Regions from separate parts of the Homo sapiens genome. Here region 2 is linked to region 1. The links are contacts of gene promoters, found by promoter capture Hi-C in blood cells and fetal thymus (Javierre and others, 2016). All regions are on one chromosome and are shown on one strand. The core of a region is centred on a gene start or on the middle of the fragment in contact, and the rest is flanking DNA. Distances in the headings are between cores, read along the strand shown. Region 1 holds the start of BBS10 (Bardet-Biedl syndrome 10). Region 2 overlaps LOC105369850 (a long non-coding RNA gene).

Evidence for each region. The method cuts DNA at HindIII sites, captures the fragments that hold promoters and counts their contacts. A CHiCAGO score of 5 or more calls a contact.
Region 2: a fragment that was not itself captured here is called in contact with the fragment with the promoter of BBS10 in region 1 in 1 of 17 cell types (neutrophils); the score reaches 5.4 in neutrophils.

What each region holds. Positions count from the first base shown.
Region 1 is chr12:76,346,815-76,353,189 of GRCh38, forward strand. BBS10 (Bardet-Biedl syndrome 10) reads right to left here and starts at 1,601. Exons shown (of 2, transcript NM_024685.4): 1 at 1,348-1,601; 2 at 1-973. The coding sequence starts at 1,544. It overlaps OSBPL8 (oxysterol binding protein like 8), which reads right to left. Exons shown (of 24, transcript NM_020841.5): 24 at 4,983-6,375. RefSeq lists enhancers at 907-1,856, 1,857-2,806, 1,953-2,002. The HindIII fragment of the contact is 11,737 bases long and covers 1-6,375 here.
Region 2 is chr12:76,592,015-76,598,389 of GRCh38, forward strand. All of the region lies in intron 3 of LOC105369850 (a long non-coding RNA gene), which reads left to right. Among named protein-coding and RNA genes, the nearest start is that of OSBPL8, 35 kb to the left of the region's middle. The HindIII fragment of the contact is 6,362 bases long and covers 831-6,375 here.

The DNA of each region.
Region 1 (6,375 bases), core at 351-2,850:
ACATGTGCTTATCAAGCCTAGATGAACATATCTTTTGGATCTAAGGATAAGAGGTTTACAAAATTTCACCAAAGCAGTGTTAGGTATTTCACACTGCGAAAAGGCCTGTGGTGGTACAAATGGAGAAAGACCAATGATCCTCCGGATAAGAGAAACTTCTTCTGATGATAAACACTCAACCACTGATATGCCATTCACCCCTGCATAATAACTAACTAAATCTGGTTGTTTCACACTAGATATGAGCAATTTTACATTCTGACTATGTAGATGTTTCATTATTGCTTTTGTCTTTTCCATAATCCAAAATTGAGATGTCTGAAACTGTGCTTCTGAATTTAGAATAAACTCTGATCCAGAAGTGGAAAAAAGAGGCTGAATGGTTTCTGTTACTATCACCATTCGCATGTCACCATCTGCTGGGCGGTACACAGAAAAATCTTTCTGAAGCACAAGACCAGCTATGATCCTGGAATCTGAAACAGGAAGGCCAGTGACACCAACATTCAACTCTACAAAATGGTCATCCACTAACTCAAATACACCAATCCCACTTTTACAAGTCATACACTTGAAAAAGTAGTCACACATCAACTGTGAAATAAATTTATGATTATTTCTTCCCACTCTTCCACAAAAGTATGCTTCTAAGAGCAACTCTAAAGAGCTCCTACACAATGTTCTCTCTTTAGCAGACGAAAAGATAGACAAAAAGTGTCTACTTAGGTACTGGTCCATAATACCGTCTAATATTTGTGTCTGAAACGTTAGGAGAGCCTGGGAAATAAATTTCCACCGAGAACAATTTTTCCAATGCCTTCCATGGGTTTGAATGTTTTCACACATCAAAGGATCCTTTTCTCTGTCTGTGATTGCATGAAGTCCTCTAAGCAAATGGCAAAGAAAGATAATAAATGTTTTTGCACCATCTCCTGTTTTTTTGAGATGACTGGAAACACAGTCCACTATCATCCTGTACAAAAAAGAAATAAAGCAACTCATTTTCAGAAGGCTGGCTTCCCACATCTTAAAACCATGTTTACACAGCCATAAGCATAAAATGAGAATATTGTTCCTTGGATACATCCTTAGTTTTTTCCTTTCTTGGAAAAAACTCTGCTCTATTCCAAGATTCCACCGTTGGGTGGAGTGGGGAGAAGTGGTCTTGAGAATTGGTAAGATTTGGGGTGCAGGAGTGTTCCCTTGGGCAGGGCTCTAATTCCGAGCATACAGCGGTTTCACCCGAGGTCAGTCTTTCTAAGTACGCATCGCCTCAGGATGGGACAAGAGCTCCACAGAGGCTGCCTGGGGTGCCCGGCTACGGGTTAGCGTGTGGGACGCGGGTACCTGGCTATGGGATGCTCTAAGTGTAGCGCCTCCAGGAGGCGGCCTCCATTCCGGCTGAGAAGCACCTCGCCAGTGGGCTTCGTACACAAAACTTGCCGTCCCTCGGGCCCCACGCAGCAGCTCACGATGGCTTCCAGCACCTCGGCCACCTGCAACGCCGCCTTCACAGACCCTGCAGCGGCCATAGAACTTAACATATCTGGGCCGCTTCCCCTTTTTGACCAGCTTGCAGAACACCCGGGCCGACCGAAAACAGGGGTGGGAACGGCCGGAAACGGAATAGGCGGGGAGAAAACCCGGAAGCCAGGAGTCGAAGCCGGGGTAGCACGGCTTCTTGGTTGGGCGAGAGGGCTGCCCTTCTGTCCGCCTGGTGGAAAAGCCCTGCAGCTTTGCCAGGTGGGGTGAGCTGGCCCGTTGTACGCGAAGGCAGAAAAAACAGACTAGGATTTCCAGCAGCTGTGCCTGGAGCGGCAACCCTAAGCCCCTCCCCGGCTCCCTAGGTGAATTCATCTCCCTCCAGTGGCGTCCGCTGCCCCCAAATCCCTTAGTCTCCCGAGAAACTTTCTTCCTAAGTCAACACGGTAGTGGGGCCTGCGTGAAGGAGAGGGCACCCCGGTTGGAACTCTGCTGGCTTTCATCCCCTGCCAGAAGCTGCTTTTTCCGGGGCAAAACCTCTGCCTTGGATTCACGCATGTTCCTGTCCACATTCCCCACGAGTTGCTCTCCTTACCATAACGGAAATAATTTGTAGATGCAGGACAGGTGAGGAGAGCCTGGCCACAGCCATGAATTGCAGGCTTTATGTCTGCTGCAGAGGCTTTACCACATTTCCTAGACTCAGGTATCACAATAAAACTCTAGACACCACAAATATATTAAGCAGAAATGATGCGAAGTCTCTATTTTTTGAGATGGACTCCCGCTCTGTCGCCCAGGCTGGAGTGCAGTGGCGCAATCTCGGCTGACTGCAACCTCCGCCTCCCGGGCTCAAGCGATTCCCGTGCCTCAGCCTCTCAAGTAGCTGGGATTACAGGCATACGCCACTGTGCCCCGCCAATATTTGTATTTTTAGTAGAGATGGGGATGTCACCATGTTGACCAGGCTGGTCTCGAACTCATGACCTGAATGATCCACCTGCCACGGCCTTTCAGAGTGTTGGGATTACAGGCATGAGCCGCTGTGCAGATTTAAATCCATTAATCACGTCGGTGATCAACAGTATGCTTTAAAACACATGGCCAAGGATTATTGTATATAACCCAAAGACAGAAAATACTGTCTCTTATAACATTTTTTTTGTTTTTTAAGAGATGAAGTTTCACTCTGCCGCCCAGGCTGGAGTGCAGTGGCGAGATCATAGCTTACTGCAGCTCCGCATTCCTGAGCTCGTGATCCTCCTGTCTTAGCCTTCAAGTCGCTTTGTGCCTCACTACGCCTGGTTATTTTCTCTTTTAGTAGAGACAGGGTCTCCCTGTGTTGCCCAGGCTGATCTTGAATTCCTGGCCTCAAGTGATCCTCCCAACTTGGCCTTCCAAAGTTTTAGGATTACAGGCATGAGCCACCTTGCCTGGCCTAAAACACAGGCACTTGAGAGCATGGGCTTTGGATTCAGACCTGGATTTGCTCTGTCATTTCCTTACCTGTGGCATTCACCAAGTAACCTCTTTGATCTCTGCTTTTCTCATCTTTAAAAACAATGGGCCTGCCGCAGTGGCTCATGGCTGTAATTCCAGGACTTTGGGAGGCCGAGGTGGGAGATCACAGGAGGCCGAGAGTTCAAGACCAGCATGGCCAACATAGCAAAATCCCGTCTCTACTAAAAATACAAAAATTAGCTGGGCATGGTGGTGCATGCTTGTAATCCCAGCTACTCTGGAGGCTGAGGTATGAGAATAATTTGAACTCGGGAAGGGAGGTTGCAGTGAGCCAAGATTGCACCACTGCACTCCAGCCTGGGCGACAGAGCGAGACCTTGTCTCAAAACAAAACAATCCCCGCCAAAAAAACCAGTGGAGATAACATATACAAAATAAAAATCTCAAGAGGTTTTGAGTAGGTGGAGAATGTTCACTAAACACTTTGCATAGTGCCTGGCATAGTTAGCACTCAACAGATATTTATATTACACCTGTTAGAGGAAAAGGGTCCCAATCCAGACCCCAAGAGAGGGTTCTTGGATCTCATGCAAGAAAGAATTCAGGACGAGTCCATAAAGTGAAAGCAAGTTTATTAAGAAAGAGGAATAAAAGAATGGTTACTCCATAGGCAAAGCAGCCCCAAGGGCTGCTGGTTGCCGATTTTTATGGTTATTTCTTGATGATATGCTAAACAAGGAGTGGATTATTTATGCCTCCCCTCTTTAGGCCATATAGGGTAACTTCCTGACATTGCCATGGCATTTGTAAACTGTCTTTGGTGCTGGTGGGAGTATAGCAGTGAGGACAACCAGAGGTCACTCTCGTGGCCATCTTGGTTTTGGTGGGTTTTGGCTGGCTTCTTTACTGCAACCTGTTTTATCAGCAAGGTCTTTATGACCTGTATCTTGTGCCAACCTCCTATCTCATCCTGTGACTTAGAATGCCTTAATCATCTGGGAATGCAGCCTAGATCTTAGCCTCATTTTACCCAGCTCCTATTCAAGATGGAGTTGCTCTGGTTCAGATGCCTCTGACGCACCCACCAAATTACTGGAGTTGCTCTGGTTCAGATGCCTCTGACGCACCCACCAAATTACTGTGGTAGGTCACCACTCTCCTGGTTTATTATTCCCACAAGTGATATTTTGTGAGATGCAGAAGATTCAACTAGCATAATGGCACAACATACATCATCTAGAGTCGAAGCATGCCAGTATTAGCAAGAAAATGATCTTGTAGATGTTTCACGAGGTTGGACAATGAGGGGCCGTTTTCCTTAATCCTTATTGCTATGAACAAGATAGGAGGAACCGGCAGGCCCTCCCATCTTTTTCTCCCCAATTAATAAAACCAAACCAAATGACAGCCAGAAGCAACTGGACCCTGAGCAGAGAGCAAGAATGGGAAGAAAGGAGGGTGGGGGAAAACCAGAGAGGAATGATGTCTCGGAACTCATCTGATGTTGACTCAGTATGGACTAATAGGTGATCTGAGGGGGGAAAAAAAAACCCTTTCATATGGATTTCGTATATGTTTAATAGTAGGGTTTTTTTGTGGTGCTACTCATAACAAAGGGGTTACATTACTCAATATAGATTCAAGCAGTGGATTATATTCCTGACATTTAGAAGTGAAGTGCTATTAGAGTTCTATTTAAGTGTACCACGGAGATACAGATTCAAACTTGTGCTTTTACTCTTAAAGTAAGAGTCGGCTACCACTCTTACTCCGCAGCTTTTGGAGACTTTCAACCTCTCTGAGCCTCAGCATCTTCATGTATAAAATCTGGCTAACGTCCACCTAAGGTTCTCATAGAGGATTCGAGAAGAATGAATATAAGGCACCAAGCAAAGCATACTTCAGGGATTCTCACTGTTGAATCCCTTTCAAGCCCTTTGCCATCCTTTGCAGCTATCCCTATCCCCACAAAAGGGGGGATTAAAACAAATTAGCAATAATTTAGTCATCATATTGTATTAAAAGTCACTTGATCACCGTTTGCTCTTTTTAAAAATTTTATTTAGAAGCCTACTTGTAGAAGTTAGCATAATTTTACAGATTATTAGAAAAATTCTTTTCTTTCTGCAAACAGTTATAATAGGTTAGGAATAATAGATTAGAAATGTACTACATTACAAAACAGTGGCCTATAACTATCTGTACATTTACTGTGCACCTTAAGGAAAAGAATTTGACAGTGTGCTGTACTTACACTGCAGGTAACATATTTTTATTCTATCACACAAAACTGACCAGTGGTAGTGCTTGAATTTATGAATGGCCATTAAACAGAACATTTAAACTCAGATGTATATTTAGCATGCTAAAAAGTGAAAAAAATTTCAACTGAAGTTCTGTGGCTCATCAGTTCAAATGTTTCATGGCATTTTTTTTCTTTAAGTGAAAAATTTTGATACTGTAAAACAGTTTTACATAATAAATGCAAAAAGATAACATTTTCTAAATTTTTAGAAAGAATATTCACATTCATTTTGTCATGGGTTTCACGTGGCTCTTCTAAATATATTAATCATATTAATAAGACACTGGTCCTATACAATTTCAACAGTCCATCTTCAATTAAAAACTAACAAAAATAAACAGTATGTAAAGAGTAACAAAAAGTAAATTAAATATACTAAACTCACACAACAGGTAGAATAAAATGAAACCAAATTACATAATGGCAGGTTATACATTTTAAAGAATCTCTTTCCACTTAGTCAAATAAGATAGAAATTGAAATGTAAACTTACTGATTTCTGTGGGATTTTCCCCACTGGTTCAAATTGGAAAATTTGATATAAATCTAATATTTTATTTCTGTACATTTAATATGATTCAATATAATCTGCAGTCTCATGTATGGCTTATCAATAATGCCATCATCACTGTATGTCAAACAACCTCACTGCTTACTAGAAATGCTAAACACTGGAAAAAATGGAATTTTATACATTTGTTTTCTTAAATTTTGACAGATATTCTTCAGAAAGTTAAAACTGCCTTCCACAAAATTTTGTGTGTATATGGCACAAGGTGACAGCCAAAAAGTGTGATTCCATCGAAAAGGCACTGTTAACAATACTCAGAATAATCTGACAAGTCTACATCAATGTCTGAGTAAAGAATAGGTAAATAGACAAACCCCTATAAAAGATAGTATTATTGTTTAAATATACTATAGCTATATAAAAAGAAAGTAACACACAGAAATGACCCTTTTATGACAAGCCTATAAACACCTTGAATCACATTATAGTTCTGTAACACAAAAAATGACAAAAAATATTTTCTTAAAGGCACAAAAGCATGAATATTAAATGAGAGTTGTATTTTACAAGGCCAACTTTTCAATGGAATGCGGTTACCAACTGAGCTGTGACAAAG
Region 2 (6,375 bases), core at 2,762-5,261, 250 kb after region 1:
AACAGGTTATACGTAGGAGGCTCATCTGCACCTGGACTTGATTCACATGATGAAATTTTAGAATTTGAGCTGATGCTATAATGAATGAAACTCTTGGGAACTGATATGGTTTGTCTCTGTGTCCCCACCCAAATCTCATCTTGAATTGTACTCCCACAATTCCCATGGGTTGTGGGAGGGGCCCTGGTGGGAGATAATTTGAATTATGGGGGAGGTTCCCCCATACTGTTCTCATGGTAGCAAATAAGTCTCACGATATCTGATGGTTTTATCAGGGGTTTTATCAGGGGTTTCCACTTCTGCATCTTCTTCATTTTCTCTTGCCGCCGCCATGTAAGAAGTACCTTTCACCTCTCAGCATGATTCTGAGGCCTCCCCAGCCATGTAAGTCCAATTAAACCTCTTTTTCTTCCCAGTCTCAGGTATGTCTTTATCAGCAGTGTGAAAACGGACTAATACAGGAACCTTGGAAGGGGAGAAACCATATATTTCATATGGGAGGGCCTGAGGAAAGACTGGCAGACAGAACCTAGGCTGATTCTCCAATGACCCCCACTTTCTGATATCAATGCCCCTGTTAATTACATCCCATGAATATGGGAGGAATCTGTGAAGCATCTAACTTATAGAATATGGCAAAGGTGACAGAATGGCATTCCTATGATAACATTATGTTATGTAAGACTTCATATTGCTAGTAGACTCTTCTGCTGGCCATGAAGAAGCAAACTGCTATGTTGCTGCCTATGGAGTAGACCACATGGCAGGCAACTTGAATGGACTCTAGGAGCTAATGGCATCCTCCAGCTGACAGCCAACCAGCACACTGAAGCTTTCAGTCCTATATCCTCAATGAAATAAATTCGTTCGGCAAACCATATGAGCTTGGGAGCAGATGAGCTTCCCAATGAGAACACAGCCCACCTGATGCATTGACTCTAGCCTGGAGAGACCTGGAAGCAGAAAATCCAAATAAGCTGTGTCTGTACTCTTGACCACAGAAACTGGGATATAATACATGTTATTGTTTTAGGCTGCTAGATTTGGTAACTTGTTATCCAGCAATAGATTACAAGTGCAGTCAAAGATTGTCCCAGAGAGTGTTAACTTCTTTACTCTTCCAGGTTGTACATGCCTAAGCGCAGAGTGGGTTCTCATTGGCATCCATGCCATATCATCAGAGCAGCACAGGTTTTGAAATGATAAATATGTGGTACAGTTGCACAAAACTGGTTGCCATAGCAATAGTTGGTATAAAAGGTAGGCTGAAAGGATGTGAAAAAGATTATTCTAGTTTGTCTCATCCTGGCTACCATTTCAGGGAGTCTGTGTTGCTTGACTGGGTGGGGGCAACCAGATCATCATCTCTGAAGGGTCTGAACTCTAATTCTTGCTCTTCAGTGAGTCTTAATTATTACAATTACCCATTTATACTTATCACCAGACATGGAGCACGAAGAAATAACTCAGTGAATCCTATGTGTTCCATGCATCGGACTTCCTGTCTCCATTGGGTAGCAGCAACTCTATTTCATATGGGTAATCAAGGTCAGTTATCACCACCAAGATAGTAAGTGTTTTCATTGATGGTCCACTGACACAAGTGATCTAAAATGATCATGTGATAGTTATAGTTTCCAGTTCAATGGAGACTTCATGTGTGCCCTCATAGAAGTCCCCTTCATACCAAACAAGTGCTTCTAATCCTGAAAAGCCTAAGAATGCACAGATAGGAAGCCCAAATTCTGCAAAGGGGTCAATGGGAGTGTTGGTGAGAGCCATTCCTACAACCACCCTTTGGTTTCTGGACCTGTATATTCTGGCTATTGGAAACACACCACTAGAAATCAGCTATACTTTTTTTTTTTTTTTTTTTTTTTTTGAGATGGAGTCTCACTCTGTCACTTAGGCCGGAGTGCAGTGGTGCAATCTCAGCTCACTGCAGCCTACACCTCCCGGGTTCCAGCGATTCTCCTGCCTCAGCCTCCTGGGTAGCTGGGATTACAAGCACACGCCACCGCACCCAGCTAATTTTTGTATTTTTAGTAGAGAAAAGGTTTCACCATGTTGGCCAGGCTGGTCTCAAACTCCTGACCTCAGGTGATCTGCCCGCCTTGGCCTCCCAAAGTGCTAGAATTACAGGCGTGAGCCACTGTGCCCAGCCATCAGCTATACATTTAATGCACCTATCTTATTCTTGAGAACAATACCCTATCCTTTTGAAGTGTTAGTCCTGCATGGGTTCCTTGGCTAAGTCTTTATTAGATTATTTTATTGTTCCATTAGGATGGCCAATTTCATGTTTATGCCCCATTATTACACCTATTTTATCATAAAATGGGCTCTTTGATATAAAAAAATAGGTAGAATTCAATGCCAGTAAATCAGGCATTCAGTAAGTTCTTGTACGGTGGGTGGTGCTGACAAAGGTACCTACAACAGTGAAGAAAAATGCATACCCATAATAGGTATCAATTCTGATAAGTACAATTTGCTATCCCCTCCAGGGTTGAAAGAGTCCAATATAATCAATTTCCCACTGAATGGTTGACTAGCCTTCTTAAGGGATGGTGCCATAATGAAGACTTAGCATTTATCTTTGCTGCTAATAGACTGGACAAGCAGCAGTGGCCCAGGAGAGAGGGAGTTCATGCTATTGGATCATTCACAGCCTTTATCCCTGCCACCATGGCCATGTAATTATCATAGGCCCATTGTGTAAACACAGATATTGCTGAGAAGAGAGACTGAATGATTTCTACTAGACAAGTCCTGTCTACTTGGTTGTTTAGTGCTTTCTCTGCAGTATAGGCTCTCTGATAGGCATTGAGGTAGCACACAAATTTCTGCACACTTTGAGCCTACTCCAGTGGTCTACCCATACATTTATTCCTTGGATATTTTTATTTCCCATCTTCCAGTCTTTCTCCTCTAGGCCTGTCTGACTAACCAACCAAGCCAATTGCCATCATTCAAAGGTCCATGTACATCTATACATCAGGCCTTTTCTTCCTTTATAGAAAGTAGTTGATCAGGTACACTGCTTACAGATCTGCAGTTGAGAGAATTTCCCTTCAAGAATACCCTTAAGTAGGGTGGTTGTGTAGCAGCAGTCCATTTGGAGTTAGCACCAACAGATTGAGATGAACTTTCTGTGATTAAGATTCCATGCGCTATTTTGCAACATCATGCATTTAGTCATTTGGAAAATAGTGCTTCATTGAGTTATGCATATCTTCCAAGTGCTGACAGATTTCATGTTGAAATACCCCAAAAAAATCACATGTGTTATTGTCACCACTGATCTCATCAGAAAATTTTTGAAGAATCAAGAAGCTGCCAAATTCATAGAGGTAGATATGAGTTTTAAAAAATTCTAAATTTTGTTTGAAAGCTCAAATGTTATCATTGGCAACAAACGCTGTGAGTTGTTTTCCTTGAAGTGACGGGATCACTTATTTTTGAGAAAAGTTCTGACACATACCTAAGTCTGAATAACTATAGTTTATCTGTCTGTCATTCTTTCAAGTAAAGATAATTTTCCATGTAAAATAGTGGCTTAACTCACGACTCAAGCACAAAAATCATTTTCTTTGAGATAACCTTAGAACTTTGGTGTGCAACAGGAATACATTATGCATTTTGTCTCACAGAATTTTAAAACATACATAATCAAGGGTTGAGATTTAATAAAATTAATCATGCTATTTTATCAAGAATAATATTAAATGAAACTGTCTTGCTTTTCTGGGATATAGCAGTAAATAATTCAATGTCTACTAGTACACTTTTGGTACCACTGCCTTAATTTCTGTTAAAGCACCAACAATTTTACCCACCATTGCCTTTGTTTCATAGTGCAAATGTCAACTCACTGAGAAAGCCAAGTAATGTCTTGGTATTATTGTAAAAATAGTTTTGATCTTGTATATACTTGAAAGGATCTGGGAAATTCCCTGGGGTCTGCAGACCACATTTTATGAACCATGGTCAAGAGAAAAATCTGAGTCCTATGTGGTAGCAATCCACTTTTCACACAATTTGCCCCTCTGAGAAGAGTCTGTGCTGTTTTCACCAATCCTGGCTTTGACGCCTCTCTCATTGGCCTTTTCTGCTTGCTGATATCATGACCATCATATTCCATTCTCGGTTCTAGTTCCGTTTCCCATGTCTAACCATTTATTCTTGTCATCAAAGTAAAGATTCTTTGCCTCTTTTTGTATCTACTTGATCAAATCTCACACAAATCTTTTAATGATTCTATTTTAATTCTTGATCTTTTGTTACCAAACAGGCCCTTCAGGATAGAACTTAATTTCATTCATTATTCTTTTATTCGTACATTATTTATTTATTTTAAAAAAAACATTTTCTGCAGACCTACTATGTCATTTCCCAGAGAGATAGCATTTGCTTTTGGCCTTAAAGGGTGACATTATTTGGACAGGTTAAATGAGTTTAAGTTTTTCAAAATATAATAAATAATACCAGATTTATGGAGGTAAAAACAACAACAATAGTAGGGAGATTGCTTAGGGAAGCTCAAGGAGAATGCACACGGTGAGTAATTAAAGACAAAGCCAGAAAGGCATTGCAGCGTCATCTCATAAAGTATGTTGAATGCTTGAAGTTTATTTTGGTAAGCAATAGGGAGCTACTGGAGATATTTGAGCAGAAGCAGAAGTAATGGTGTGAAACAGGCTCAATATCAGAGTCTGCTTAAGATTTATATGGAGGAAGAATTTGGTGGGAAAAAATAAACTTGAAGCAAGAAAACCAGGTTGGAGGCCTGAACTAGGTGGGTAGGCACAGAAATGGAGATGGATGGAGTTAGATTTTGAGTGCAAGTAAGATCAGTAGGCAGTGGTGAAGAAGTTTTTGTCAAAAATAATTACAGTTTCAAGCATGAATTACTAGGAGAATGGTGAACTATTAATAGAAATCAGATAATCAGAAAAAGGAACAGTTGGTGTGAGGCAAGATGATGAGTTCAGTTCTCTACCTGTTAGGCATATAAGTGGCTATACTCAGCGGGGGCCTATTTGTAAATTTTATACCATTTACAAGAACTGGAACCTAACAGATATTAGAAGATTGTGGTTTAGTTACACTGGCTTGATATGTCTCTTTGCAATATAAATATATTAAAGTGCAGTTGTTATTTTAATTTCCTGTGGAGTTTTTCTCTGGACAAATGTAGCAGGGATATATAGCTCTTCTGTGGTTCATACATCACAAAGATTGCTCTTATAAAATGATATATACTTATTGAGTGAGTGTGTATGTCAGTTATTATGCTAAATTTTACGTATTTTACATCAACTAATCCTTACATCAGCTTTGGTATTAGTATGTGGATTTTTATAAGAGAAATCAAGATGCAAAGAGGTTAAGTAGCTTTCCCAGGGTCAAACCGGAAGCAATGTAATGACATTTGAACCCAGGTTCTGAATGGCCCTTCTCTTTTGACTCTATACTGATAAAGTACCTATTTGCCTCCTTCCCTTTTCCTTTTCATAGAATGAAAGGACATGGTGCCTGTTAGCACAGACTACTGGTCTTTACTCTATGATTGTATCCAGGGATTCATTTAGTGCCTGCTTAGGAGATCTGTCTTAGGAAGGGCTTGTGATCACTGGCTCTTCTTGGGGCAACGACTTTCCTGAGAGAGATATTAAGTAATAAAATTATTTAACTAAAAAGTCACCCCTTAAAAAGAGCAAATAAAACAGTTTTGAATTATAACTATACTAAAGTCATTAAAAAATAACAAAAAGCTACATAAGGTCCTTTGAAACCACTTTAAATTTAGACAAACAGCAGAGAATGCCCTTAATAGCAAGTCTGAAGATCAAAGTGTGGAACTCTTCCTAAAGGAAACACAGAGGATGAAGAGTCTGGAGATTAATGTTGCAGTTGGCTGATGCTCCAACACAGTGCAGTGAGCAGGGATTCACCAAGAGGAAAGATACATCTGTGCTACAGGCTTTACATTGCACTGCCTGGCACTTGGTGAATTCTTAATATATATAAGTTCCTGTCTTTCTCCCCTTTTGTATTTTACAAAATGTTTTTCCACATCTCATTGTATTTACTCTATATAGTAAAAAGAAAACCCTGATGAATAAACTGTTATCATTCCCATTACAGAGGTACATAAACCTTTACTTGTTGAAGCTGAGAATGGCTGGATAATTCTGCAGCGCAATCTCTCCAACCTGAGTGTTCTGGTTTTGCACTCTCCCTGTAGGACTTTGTCATCTGTTCCCTGACCATTGGGCTGTTAACAAAGAGTGAAGGTTTTTCCAGTAGGAGGGGTCTTTCTGGTTGGAGTCCGAACTGAACATAGATCCCACATAAGTAAAGGCCCATGAC